Linked DNA regions of Homo sapiens: regions 1 and 3 are each linked to region 2. The links are contacts of gene promoters, found by promoter capture Hi-C in blood cells and fetal thymus (Javierre and others, 2016). All regions are on one chromosome and are shown on one strand. The core of a region is centred on a gene start or on the middle of the fragment in contact, and the rest is flanking DNA. Distances in the headings are between cores, read along the strand shown.

Region 1 (4,036 bases), core at 1,188-3,687, 1.1 Mb after region 2:
TTATACAAACAGGGTTTCACCATGTTGCCCAGGCTGGTCGTGAACTCCTGGGCACAAGCGATCCACCTGCCGCCTCCTCCCAGAGTGCTGGGATTACAGGTGTGAGCCACCGCTCCTGGCCTAATCCCCTTTCTCTATTTGAATATCTAGTGTTAGAATCTGAAAACTAGAATGTGTGTGGCTTCTTGGTTTTTGAGACAGGGTCTCGCTCCGTGGCCTATGCTGGAGAGCAGTGGTATGAACATGGCTCACTGCAGCCTTGATCGACTTCTTGGGCTCAAGTGATCCTCTCACCTCAGCTTCCCAATTAGCTGGAACTAGAGGATGGGCCATCACGCCTGGATAATTTTCAAATTTTTTGGAGAGGAAGTCTCACTACACTATGTTGCCCATGCTGTTAGAATGTGGGTTTTAGGATCTGCAGATCATGTTGAAAGCAACATTCATTAGCTGCTTAAAAACAGAATTAATCTGCTTTAATACAAATTTAACTTTTTAGTAATTTAAATTTTATGAGAAATCAACACCAATGTCAAGCATTAACAAATCATAGCATCCACTTCTATTAATATATAAGCCCAAATTTGTGGAATTTGACATGGGAATTCTAGGTTAATGTAGGATAGAATACTGCTCTTGATTCGGTTGAGCCTGAATCATGAGGACAAAAGGGTCAGCAATAGACAGGAAACAGTAAATAGATCACAAGAACCCAAAAGAGATCAAATGAAATAGAACACTGTATTTTCCCTGTGGAGAAAGGGTAGGTTTCTCCCTAATAGAATCCCTTCTCCGGAGGGAAAGGATAGAGAAAATGGGATGGTTATTCAGTTAGCTGTGAGCCTGAAGGAAACAGAAACCATTTCCCCTATGCTCAAGTGCATTCCAGAGTGGTATTTCCAGAATGTACCATGAATTTCAGAACCATTACCAAGTCTCTCTCAAGGGTAATAATGTTATCCCCATAAGGTACAACTATAATCATGTCACCTCCTTAAAAATCTTAGAATGGGGCCAGGTTTGATAGTTCACGCCTGTAATTACAACACTTTGGGAGGCCGAGGCAGGCGGATCACCTGAGGTCAGGAGTTCAAGACCAGCCTGACCAACATGGAGAAACCCCGTCTCCACTAAAAATACAAAATTAGCCGGGCGTGGTGTCGCATGTCGCCTGCCTGTACTACTCGGGAGGCTGAGGCAGGAGAATCGCTTGAACCTGGGAGGTGATCACAATCTTAGAATGGCTTCCCATTACACTTACAATAAAGTTTAAGTTCCTGTTCGGCCTACCACTTCATCTACCTCCACTTCACCCACCACACCTTAGGGCTAAACCACTCTCAACTGGCAATTTTTCTCCCCTTGGGCTTTCAATTGTGTAGCTTTTAAACCTGGACCCTAACCCCAATTTACTTGCTAACTCCAAATTAGCCTTCAGGTCCCTGATTAATTTCCTCCGGAAAACCTTCCCTAACTACCCCTTCTTTATACCCCAGCCCCTGTTGTCTACACCTTGAGCACTTATTTATCCTCAGTACTTTACTGTATGGCTCCTTAGGTGGGCAGCAAGTGTCTTAAGGACAGGACACATGTGCATCTGATTCTTCCTGTTTAGACCAGGTTCCTAGCACAGACCCTAACGTTGCCACCTTTTAAAAACTAGGTGAATTTGAGTTCTAAGATTTTACATTCTGACGTCCGTGGCTCAGAAATTCGACAGTTGATCGTTCTCCCTTTCCCCACATTGCTCAAGGGCAGCAAGTTTCCTTCCCTAAAGCCCAGTTGTTCTTTTCCGCCTCAAAAAGAAATGCTTCTTAGAATAACTTTTCTAGGGGACGGGTGAGGAAATTGTTGGCCAGATGCTGTGGCTTTAAGTCTAGCAACAGTACACCCTTCAACTCCATCTTCATTGTTTTATCCCCAGCATTGAATCCTCCATTCCACTTTCCTGACTGCCCTCCGCAGAGGCAACAGACCAGCCAATGAAATCCTTCGGGACGGGTCCGCCCCTCTGCAGGACAGGCTGACGTCCCCAGAGCGACTCTGCGCCCCCCCCCGCTGGTCCTTTGGTCCCCGAGTTTATGCCAGAGCATGGAGCCTAGGGCCTGGGTTGGTTTGGTCAGAACCAGGGCTCCGTGGGAGGGTTGGCCTCAGAAATGCAGGAATTAAACACCGTGCTCCCCACCCTAGCCCAGACCCGGCTCTTCCTCCCTCCCCAGCACGTAGAGCACCCGGGACATGGCTCCCGTACCCGATGTGCACGGAAAGCCTTCACAAGGTACCGATAGGCCGCGGTGTCGCGATAGGGTCGGCCGGTGGCCGCGCTCAGGTAGCGCAACTCCCGCAGAAGTCCTCGAAAAGTGTGCGACGGGGACCCTAAGGCCGCCATTGTCCTGTCCTTCTCCGAGCGTGGTGCCCAACGGCGTCCTACGACCCTGAAAACCCCTCCTCCGGCCCAGGCGCCTAATGGTACGGTCGGACAGACTACCGACTCCCCCTATCGACTGACGAGCAGTGGAACCGCTCACTTGTCCGTTGACCGAACCTTATTAATCGAAGGCCCAGGGGCGCCGTAACAAAATCAAACGAAACCCGACTGTTAACTGAAGGTACCAGGACCTCTAACCCAGAACAAGGGTTTGGGGAAACAGGGGCTTTTCTTCACTGCGTCATTGAAGATGCCCGTTAGCCGACCAACCGCTGAGTCTCAGGAGAAGCGGGCCCGGCGGGGGGTGTGGGTGTGGATTTGATATGGAACACGCTGAGAAGACATTTTTAAATGATTTATAAAAGGGATATCAAAATTCAACGTATTGACGTCTCCCCAAATCCCAGGGGACCTGCGGCTCAGACAAAGGACATGGGTGTGTGCAGATTCTCGAAAATTGCAGCCCACCAGCTAGTAAAAACACACACACACTTCCCATTTAAAAAAAAAAAAAGTAAAGTTGGCATATTTCGCTTTGTTTAGAAAGGGGAAAAAAGGACAAAAGTCACAGGCCACCCCAGATGGGACTCGAACCCACAATCCCTGGCTTAGGAGGCCAATGCCTTATCCATTAGGCCACTGGGGCTTCTGCAAACGACGCGCTCACACAACATATTCAACTATTTTCCTCTTTGGTACGTCATCGTCACTTCATTTTCGCCTTACCCTATCCCACGAAACCACACCTAGCGCCCACGTGAGGGGTGACGTATGCTGGGAGTTGTAGTTAGAGAACAAAAGTCCACATCACCGCGCCAAAGGCTTTACCCTCGAAACTGCACCGATGCTCCGGACGTTGAACGGGCGCGCGCACGCTTCTGCGTACGCGCTTGCCTGCGCAATAGTCTCCGCGCCTGCGCCGTAGTCCCCGCGCCTGCGCAAAAGCGGGCATGCGCCGTCGCGGAGCACAGCGCGCTGGGCAAATTGGCCGGATCTTCGAGACTCGCCCTCTGAACGTCAGCTCTGGTGGGTTTTTACCGGAAGCAGCCGGACCTTTTCCGGTGTTGCGAATTTCCAGGAGGAGCTTTGCTCCAGCGGCCGTTAGATGGCGCCTGCCGCGGTCAATTTCTGCTTCCGGTTGAAGCGTTGAGGCCATTTCCGCAGGCCGGGCGTGGTGGCGCACGCCTGTAATACCAGTACTTTGGGAGGCCGAGGCGGGCGGATCATCTTAGGTCGGGGGTTTGAAACCAGCCTGACCAACACAGAGAAACCCTGTCTCTACTAAAAATACAGAATTAGCCGGGCGTGGTGGCGCATGCCTGTAATCCCAGCTACTCCGGAGGCTGAGGCAGGAGAATTGCTTGAACCCTGGAGTCGGAGGTTGTAGTGAGCCGAGATCGCGCCATTGCTCTCTAGCCTGGGCAACAGGAGCGAAACTCCATCTCAAAAAAAAAAAGAAACATGTGCCGTGTCCTTTGAATTGGTGCGTCAGCGATAAACATGGGACAGCGGGGAAGTAATAGTACATTGATTAGGAATTAATTTTAAAAATTAGCAGTTCATTTTTTGGTTCTGTTCCTAATTGTATAACGAACAAATCACTTCGGA
Region 2 (4,091 bases), core at 636-3,135:
CAGCCAAAATACTTGGCCAAGATCACATCTCTGATACCAGGAATGAGATAACCTTTATTAAGTGTTTACCATGTACCAGGCACTAAGCTCAGTGATTTCTAAGGACATCATATAATCCTCACAGCAACCATATGTGGGTCTGCTGTCATCCTTATTCGAGAGAGGCTGAAACGGAGGCTCAGATAGAACAAGTACCTAGCTCAAATATTACTAGAGAAATGGGAAAGTGCAGATTCAAACCCAGGTCTTCCGACTGCAAGTCCCTAGTCCCCAGCCCCAGCTCCACTATATCAGCCTCTGCTAGGAAGAAAGCCGCTAACTATGGACTTTCGTCGCCGGGGTTTCGAGCCTAGGACACACCTGTACAGACCCCCGTTTGCCCCGCCCCTTTCCGGAGGAGACGTCCCCTCCACCAATGAGCGGCGCCGTGGGCGGGCCGCGGGCGCGCATGCTCTGGGCCCGCAGTTGAAGTGGCGAGAGCGCTCAGATACGCGACGCGTAGCAGGCGGGGACCGAACGGGTGCCTCAGTGTCCTTCCCCTCCCCTCGCCTGGCCTCGCCGTCCTCTCCCCGCAGCCGGACCGGAACTATGTGATCCCGGAAGTTCCGGGGCCTTTGCTGTGTGGGATAAACAGTAATGGCGGAGGCTGCAACTCCCGGAACAACAGCCACAACATCAGGAGCAGGAGCGGCAGCGGCGACGGCGGCAGCAGCCTCCCCCACCCCGATCCCCACAGTCACCGCCCCGTCCCTGGGGGCGGGCGGAGGGGGCGGCGGCAGCGACGGCAGCGGCGGCGGCTGGACTAAACAGGTCACCTGCAGGTAGGACGTTGCGCGGCGGAGCGCCGGGCGCGGGGAGGGGGCCGCGGGCCAAGCCTGCGGCGCGGGAGGGAGGAGGGCGGCCGGCCTGCGGCTAGAGGCGCGGGAGGGCGGGGACCGGCGTTGTCTCGATCTCTGCAGCCCTCGCGGCCCCCGCTGCCGCCGCGTTCCCCCAGTCACTGCGTCAACCCCCGCTGGGCCGCGGAGCCCTCAGCGCTGTCCGCGGAGGCCTGGCGGTGCGCGATTACTGCGGAGCCGCGGGGCTGCACCGCCGCTTACACTTCCCTGAGCGCTGCCTGAGCTGGCTGCGAGCGCATCGGGGAGAGGTGGGCTGGCTCCTCCCCTGCCGCTGGAAGGATGCCCCCGCCGCTGCCTCCGGCTCCCGGGGCTCGGGAGGTGGTCACTTGAGGCCGGTCTCCCAGCGATCCTCTCCGGGCCTAGACACCCCGCCGAGGGCCCCAGCGAGCTTGCCTGGCTCCCGGCCCTCTCCTCTCTCCGTGCCATCCGTTTGTAACGTCTTTTCACGTCCCTCCGTCCCTCCGCCCCCCATCCTCCGCCCAACTGTGAGAAGAAGCTTTTGTATTTCTTCTTTGTATGTTTGTCGAGGTTGGCGGTGCTGAGCTTTGTCTTAGAAGCAGGCGTTCGGGGGCCGGGGTCGTCTTCTCCACCCGCGGTTTTTTTGAGCTGCAGATTATTACCCTCCCCCAGCGCTATGTTCCTCTTTTGAAATTTACGCATCTTCCGAAGGGAGTGAAAGGGCTCTTCGCTCCCGGAAGAGAGAGAGGTTTGGTTTTGGTTTGATATGCGAGACGAAAATATTAGAAAAATTAAGGGATGGCGGTTGTATGGATGTGTATGGTTGTAAAAAACTACCTAGCTCTACGCAGAAGAGGGCATTTAATTGTACGTTTTTTATTTTCCGGTTTTTAAATAGTGATCAGTAGCGACTGTAAGCTTTTCTTTTTCTATCAGTTGAATAAATCAACTGAAATGCCGGTTTTCACCTGGGTGGTATAATTTATATGCAAGTATGTAAAAATGATTCCTAATTAGAACTTGTAGTATTAAGGGTGAAATTTGAAACCTTCCCAGTCTTTGATGTGATACATTTATCCTGGCGACCTTCGAAGGTCTCTCAGCCTTTGATATGATACATTTAAGGTGTGAAGGATAAGCTTAATTATTTTACATAATGGGATGTAGAAAGCATAAACGCAATTTCAGGTCACTTGTCTTATTCATCGGTGGATTGTAAAAGTGGAATATTGCCAGGAATGATGATTTTAAAGTTTCTACTCATGGAGCAAATTATTTGAATATCTGTTTCCCTTTTACAATGCTACAGTTGATCTATATGTGCTAGTTACATCTTTTAAAAGATTGAAACCGGCCTGTCGGGGTGGCTAGGTCGGCGTGGTGGCTCACGCCTGTAATCCCAGCATTTTGGGAGGCTGAGGCGGGCGGATCGCCTGAGGTAAGGAGTTCGAGACCAGCCTGGCCAACATGGTGAAACCCTGTCTCTACTAAGAATACAAAAATTAGGCCGGGCACAGTGGCTCACACCTGTAATCCCAGCACTTTGGGAGGCCAAGGCAGGTGGATCACGAGGTCAGGAGCTCAAGACCAGCCTGGCCAAGATGGTGAAACCCCGTCTCTACTGAAAATACAAAAAACATTAGCCGGGCGTGGTGACAGGCGCTTGTAATCTCAGCTACTCCGGAGGCTGAGGCAGGGAGTTGCTTGAACCCAGGAGGCAGAGGTTGCGGTGAGCCAATATCACACCACTTCACTCCAGCCTGGGCGAAAGTGAAACTCTGTCAGAAGAAAAACAAAAAAGAAAAAGAAAGAAAAGAAAGAGCTTAGATTTACTAGTTTTTGGGGGTTTTTTGTATAGCTTTTGCTTGAGACAGTTTTTTATTGTTGTGCAGATTCCTTGATAGGTCTGGGGTTTTAGTGTTTGACATTGTTTTCGGTTGTTCTAGGTACCAACATGATCTCTTACTTAAAACTATTTTCTCCTTTAGATAGAGGAATGTCAACTATCATTTTTTTTTTTTTTTTTTTGAGACAGAGTTTCCCTCTTGTTTCCCAGGTTGGAGTGCAATGGTGTGATCTCTACTTACCACAACCCCCGCCTCCCAGGTTTAATTGATTCTCCTGCCTCAGTCTCTGGCATTACAGATGCCTTAGTAGCTGGGATTACAGGCGTGCACCACCATGCCCACCTGACTAATTTTGTATTTTTAGTAGAGACGGGCTTTCTCCGTGTTGGTCAGGCTGGTCTTGAACTCCCGACCTCAGGTGATCTGCCGGCCTCAGCCTCCCAAAGTGCTGGGATTAGAGGCGTGAGCCACCGCACCCGGTCTATGATCCTTATCGTTCACTTTGAGCTCTCTGAGAAGAGTAGGGCCCTATTTTATCTGCAGGGCTTTCTTTCCTCAGTTCCTCAGTTTCTTTCCTCAGTTCCAGTATCATGAACAGGATACTCAGTTACTGAGTATCCTGAGCAGATACTGAGTAAATGCTTGAGTGATGTTGATAAAGTCATATACCTAGAATTACCCACTTTAACAGGAACTTTGTAAGATTCCTCTGCTTTCATTAAAAAAAAAAAAAACAAAACTTGTAAATTACCAAAGACAAAGTACTTAACAGAACACATGTGTATCTTCCTTTTTTTTTTTTTTTTTTGAGATGGAGTGTCGCTCTGTCGCCCAGGCTGGAGTGCAGTGGCGAGATCTCAGCTCACTGCAACCTCTGCCTCCTGGGTTCAAGCGATTCTCCTGCCTCAGCCTCCTGAGTAGGTGGGATTACGCCCGGCCACATGTATATTTTTTCTGGAACTACCTTATTCAATCATTCAGTAAGTAAACATTGCACGCCAGCAATGGGAGACACAATATTAGGTGTTCAAGAGAGTGCAGATGTATGTACTGTATTATAAATAAACATTTTCAATATGTTTGCTAGGTAAACATCACCTAAAGAATCAGGTAGAGGTGTGTTTTAGTGTTTGTGCTCATTTCTCCCTATAGCACATCACTCCTGTATCTAGGAATTTGACTAAAGCTATTTTCTTCACTTAGAAGTTTTGATTAGAATGTTTTTAATTGCTCGGAATCACCTGTATTTTCCTACTGGTTACATTTTTTCTAATGTTTCTCCTGGGGTTTTCATTGTGTTTTATACCTTTCCTCAGAAACTGTGTTATGCTGCCACCACCAGGCTGTTTTTCATATCTTTTATTAGAGCAATACTAAGAAACAGAAATGC
Region 3 (4,072 bases), core at 513-3,012, 1.2 Mb before region 2:
TACCACTTGTCTACACACACAACACATAGCATACTTAGAATAGGAATAGATCTCTGATTTGATGTCCCAGTAATTTAGAGATTGATGATATCCTACCGATACTTTAAGGAGCAGACATTTTAAAACGATGGTACAGACCCACTAGTCTGACCTTTTCTCTGTTAGTCACAGTTGGGCTGTGGTCATTCCCGGAGTCCCTAAGATTAGAACAGGTAATGGGTCACCTGTGTGACCTGCACCAAGGCCAGCCCCACCGCCCCCGGCCACAGAAATAAGATCTCTCTCTCTCTCTGTCTGTCTCTGTGTGTGTATGTATGTGTGTATGTCTGTTTCTGCCTCTCCCACATCACATACATACATACACACACACACACACACACACACAGTGCCTCACTGGGAAGAAATGAGCAGGTATGGAGGAGACATTCTCAGAGATGGATCTCTACTGTGCTCCGTCTTGACTTATTTGCTGTCAGTGCTCCAAGGGATGAGCTCTGGAGGTCATCAGTAACTTGGTCAAACATCCACAGCTACTTCTTCATCCTTCTGATCCAATCAAGAGATTCCTATGCTGAAGTTTTACCTTTCAGGAAAGGCTGAACTAAATATGTAAATAATGAAAGTAGACCCTGTTCTTGGGGGTAAAATGCTGCATAAGTACATTCTTTATTGTTATATCATAGATTTTAGATTAGAAGTGGCAGCCTAGGGCAGTCATTGATTATCTTCTTAGGGATAGGGGTTAAATCACATTATCATTGCAGTGCTGACGTGTAGGACACGGAGGTTCATAAACATCCCGTGGAGTAGCACCCAGCACATAGCTCTACTGGGTCCTTTTGCGAACAGGCAAACCATGGAGCCTTGCTGAACCCTGGATGAACTGTGTACCTCCTTCTCTTGCCACCTCCTTCTTTCTATTTTAATAGCTATTCCTATTTTTATACACATCTCCTCTTAAAGAGTTACTTAGCTGCTAGATTTACCTCAAGGATTGAGGCATGTAAAATTTATTTTTAAATATAAAATGGGGGTTCACAGAAAACCCCTAATCCATTTCCAAAGCCATCAGCTTTAGAGCTGACTTTCCTCTTTCTCCCCTGAGCAACTTCCTTTTCCTGATCTTCTGAGGGAATATCCCTCGTCCCACAAATGCTCCAGCACCTCCTAATTTAATACCCTCAAGTTGTATATATACCAGGAAATAAACTCATAATCTCCATCCTAATCAGTTTGTAATATAAAAGGAAGAACAAAATTCCCAAACTTTAACCCTATGGCCTTTTCAGTGTTTATTGATGAGTATATTGCAAACACCTGGGTAGCCAGAGCACCTCTGCTTCACTCCTCTGCTTAGAAGCAGCTTCTGCCACACATCCAGGATTATGTAATACATATCTGTCACGGTCCACAGGACCAGCGGACTTTAAAAAATAATGGTGACATAAAAACTCACAGTGGTAGCTATACCACGGAACCCTAGGTGAGAAGGCACCTCCACCCGCACACAGGTGTATGGACGCAAGGATGAACGTTCCGGCCGCACGCGTCCCACACACGGACGTGCACACGGGCGCCTCCGAATAGGCTCGCGGTTCCCGAAGCCGGCTCCGCGGACGCCTGCTCTGGCTCCGTGGGAAAGGCGCCTCCGCGGCGGGGCCCCGGGCAGCGCCAGACCCGGCGGGCGGCGGCGGCGTTGGCGCGGCCAGGCGAGGGGGGTTCCCGCAGCCCGCCCGCCCCGCCCCTCGCGCCCGCGGCTCCGCCTCGCCTAGCCATGGTGGAGCAGGGAGACGCGGCGCCGCTGCTGCGCTGGGCCGAGGGCCCCGCCGTCTCCCTGCCGCAGGCCCCGCAGCCGCAGGCGGGAGGCTGGGGCCGGGGCGGCGGCGGGGGCGCCCGGCCGGCCGCGGAGCCGCCCCGGAGGCGGGAGCCCGAGGAGCCGGCCGCCCCGGAGGTGCTGCTGCAGCCCGGGCGCCTGGAGCTGGGCGACGTGGAGGAGGACCAGGTGGTGGCCGTGTTCGTGGTCACCTTCGACCCCCGCTCGGGTGAGGGCCGCGCCGGGGCCAGGCGCGTGGGGAGGGTCGGGGTGCCCCCGAGCTTTGGGGGCGCGGGGGAGGGGCTCGCTGCGCGCGCACCTGCCCTCCCGGCCCCGCACCCCGCACCAGGGCCGGCCCCGGGCTCCCGGGCTTGGGGAAGGGCGGGGGTCGGCCAGTCCTCAGCTCTCTCCCTCGGGGCGCAGCTGGGTGCTGGCGCGCGGCCTCTCGGAGCGGCCCCGAGGGCTTTGTTCCAGCCCCGCCGACCTCCTCTCCCCTCCCCTCCTCTCCTCTGAGTCCCAGCCCCACAGTGGTGTTCGCACTTCAGTGACAGGGCATCCGGTTTGTGGCCACGTTGGGTTTTGTTTTCTTTTCTTGGGGGCTAGAAGATTTTTCACGTTGTGCGGAGGAAACCCCCCGGGCGAGCGCCCTGAGCTCCCCGCTCGCCCCCCATCCCGTCCCCCGCTCCCCGCTCGCCCCCCACCCCGTCCCCCGCTCCCCGCTCGCCCCCCACCCCGTCCCCCGCTCCCCGCTCGCCCTAGCTCCCCGTCGCTTCCTCTGGGGTAACTTTCCTAGCGGCCAAGTTCACTTTCTCTGACTGCATTATTTTGAGGAATTAACGCCGGGAGCATTAAGGGATGGGGCTGAGGGATTCAGCTGAAGGCTGATTAAAGGAGAAGCCTCCCCGGATAGGCTGTCTTTCGGAGATGCTTGGAGAATTAAAGTCTTATCCCACATAATCTTAGCCTAACCACCCGGCAGGGGGGTGTGCGTTTTCCAGGTGAGAGTCCACGGGGGACAGAAGGTGGAAGAACGACCCTGCGCGCCCAGGAAGCCTTGGAGGGTCAGCTAGGGACTTCTGACTCTGAGAGTGGCTCTGCTGTTCGGGGTTGGGGGAAGGAGGTGTCATCGCAGGAGTCGTGGTGTCAGGGCTTAAGGAAACCCAGGTGTGACTGTCAATGTCTCCAGGGCAGCTGCTGGAGTGTGGAGTGCCTGTTCGTGCGGGAAAATATTGGCTGCTTTCTGGGATGAGGTGGGATGGAGTGGAGAAAAAAAGGGGTTAGGATCTGGAGAAGGGGAATCTGGTATGGCAGCTGATGATGGGTTCCAGGCCGGTAATTTTGGGGTTCTCAGCTGTAGGACACAGGAAGAATGTGGGATTCACTGTGGAGCTCCATTTGCAGGGACAGAGTTTGTGGGGACAATTCAGGCCTTTGTGACTTCTGCTTGTTTCTTTGCCACATTCCATGGCTTTCAAACTCTTTTGACTGATCTATCATGTGAAGTTAATTTTACATCACAACCAATATGCTCACATACACGTACAGTACTTATGTAACTGAAATAGACATTTCATGAAGTAGTGCTGACTCCTTCTACATGTAATGCATTCTTTTTTCTCTCTCTTTTTTTTTTTTTTCAGACAGTGTCTCACTCTGTCGCCTAGGCTGGAATGCAGTGGCTCTTTTCTCTTTTTTTTAAGTGTTCATCACACATGCTGGTTGACTCGCATTTGAGATTCCTAGATACCAGTAGTTTGAAAAGTATTGGTCTTTTTTGACCAAAGTTACCCGTAATGCTAGACAAAAACCAATACTTTGTAACTAATCATATTGCTTATACTGTACCCCATCATTTACAGGTAAACAGCTACCAGCATTTGACTTATCCTGGGAAATATTTCAGAGTAACTAGAAGGAATAGAAAGGGCACATTCACACGGTCTGATTTAGTATTGGTAGCTCCAGTGGTAGAGTCTTAGGGAAGGGAAAGAGAAAAGAAGTTTTATACTAATTACAGACAGATAGGGTGGATAATACTGATAATTGATCAATTATTGATATTGGCCAATTGATATCTATCAATTGATAAAAGCGCCAGAGGGCTAGTACCTGCCCCCATTCCTTGTCAGTCACAGGCAGTGAGCATGGCTTTGTGAATTTGTGTATACGGAGTGTGTGTGTGTGTGTGTGTGTGTGTGAGTGATGGTTTTCAGACTAAGGCTACTGTGCAAAGAAGGGATTGTAACACATTTAGACATT

The links. The method cuts DNA at HindIII sites, captures the fragments that hold promoters and counts their contacts. A CHiCAGO score of 5 or more calls a contact.
Region 1: a contact is called between the fragment with the promoter of FMC1 here and a fragment that was not itself captured in region 2, in 1 of 17 cell types (total B cells). The highest score is 6.2, in total B cells.
Region 3: a contact is called between the fragment with the promoter of DENND11 here and a fragment that was not itself captured in region 2, in 1 of 17 cell types (naive B cells). The highest score is 5.1, in naive B cells.

The regions. Positions count from the first base shown.
Region 1 is chr7:139,339,738-139,343,773 of GRCh38, reverse strand. It overlaps FMC1 (formation of mitochondrial complex V assembly factor 1), which reads right to left and starts at 2,437. Exons shown (of 2, transcript NM_197964.5): 1 at 2,252-2,437. The coding sequence starts at 2,389. It overlaps FMC1-LUC7L2 (FMC1-LUC7L2 readthrough), which reads right to left and starts at 2,437. Exons shown (of 11, transcript NM_001244584.3): 1 at 2,252-2,437. The coding sequence starts at 2,389. It overlaps TRR-CCT4-1 (tRNA-Arg (anticodon CCT) 4-1), which reads right to left and starts at 3,074; the gene lies at 3,002-3,074. It also overlaps a transcript of LUC7L2 not described here. RefSeq lists enhancers at 2,197-2,446, 1,894-2,461, 2,717-2,786, 2,817-2,886, 3,197-3,256. The HindIII fragment of the contact is 22,532 bases long and covers 1-4,036 here.
Region 2 is chr7:140,475,890-140,479,980 of GRCh38, reverse strand. MKRN1 (makorin ring finger protein 1) reads left to right here and starts at 476. Exons shown (of 8, transcript NM_013446.4): 1 at 476-821. The coding sequence starts at 637. RefSeq lists enhancers at 1-39, 370-1,210 and silencers at 346-455, 746-885, 1,166-1,245. The HindIII fragment of the contact is 221 bases long and covers 1,775-1,995 here.
Region 3 is chr7:141,699,856-141,703,927 of GRCh38, reverse strand. DENND11 (DENN domain containing 11) reads left to right here and starts at 1,762. Exons shown (of 9, transcript NM_001080392.2): 1 at 1,762-2,042. The coding sequence starts at 1,775. The HindIII fragment of the contact is 7,386 bases long and covers 1-4,072 here.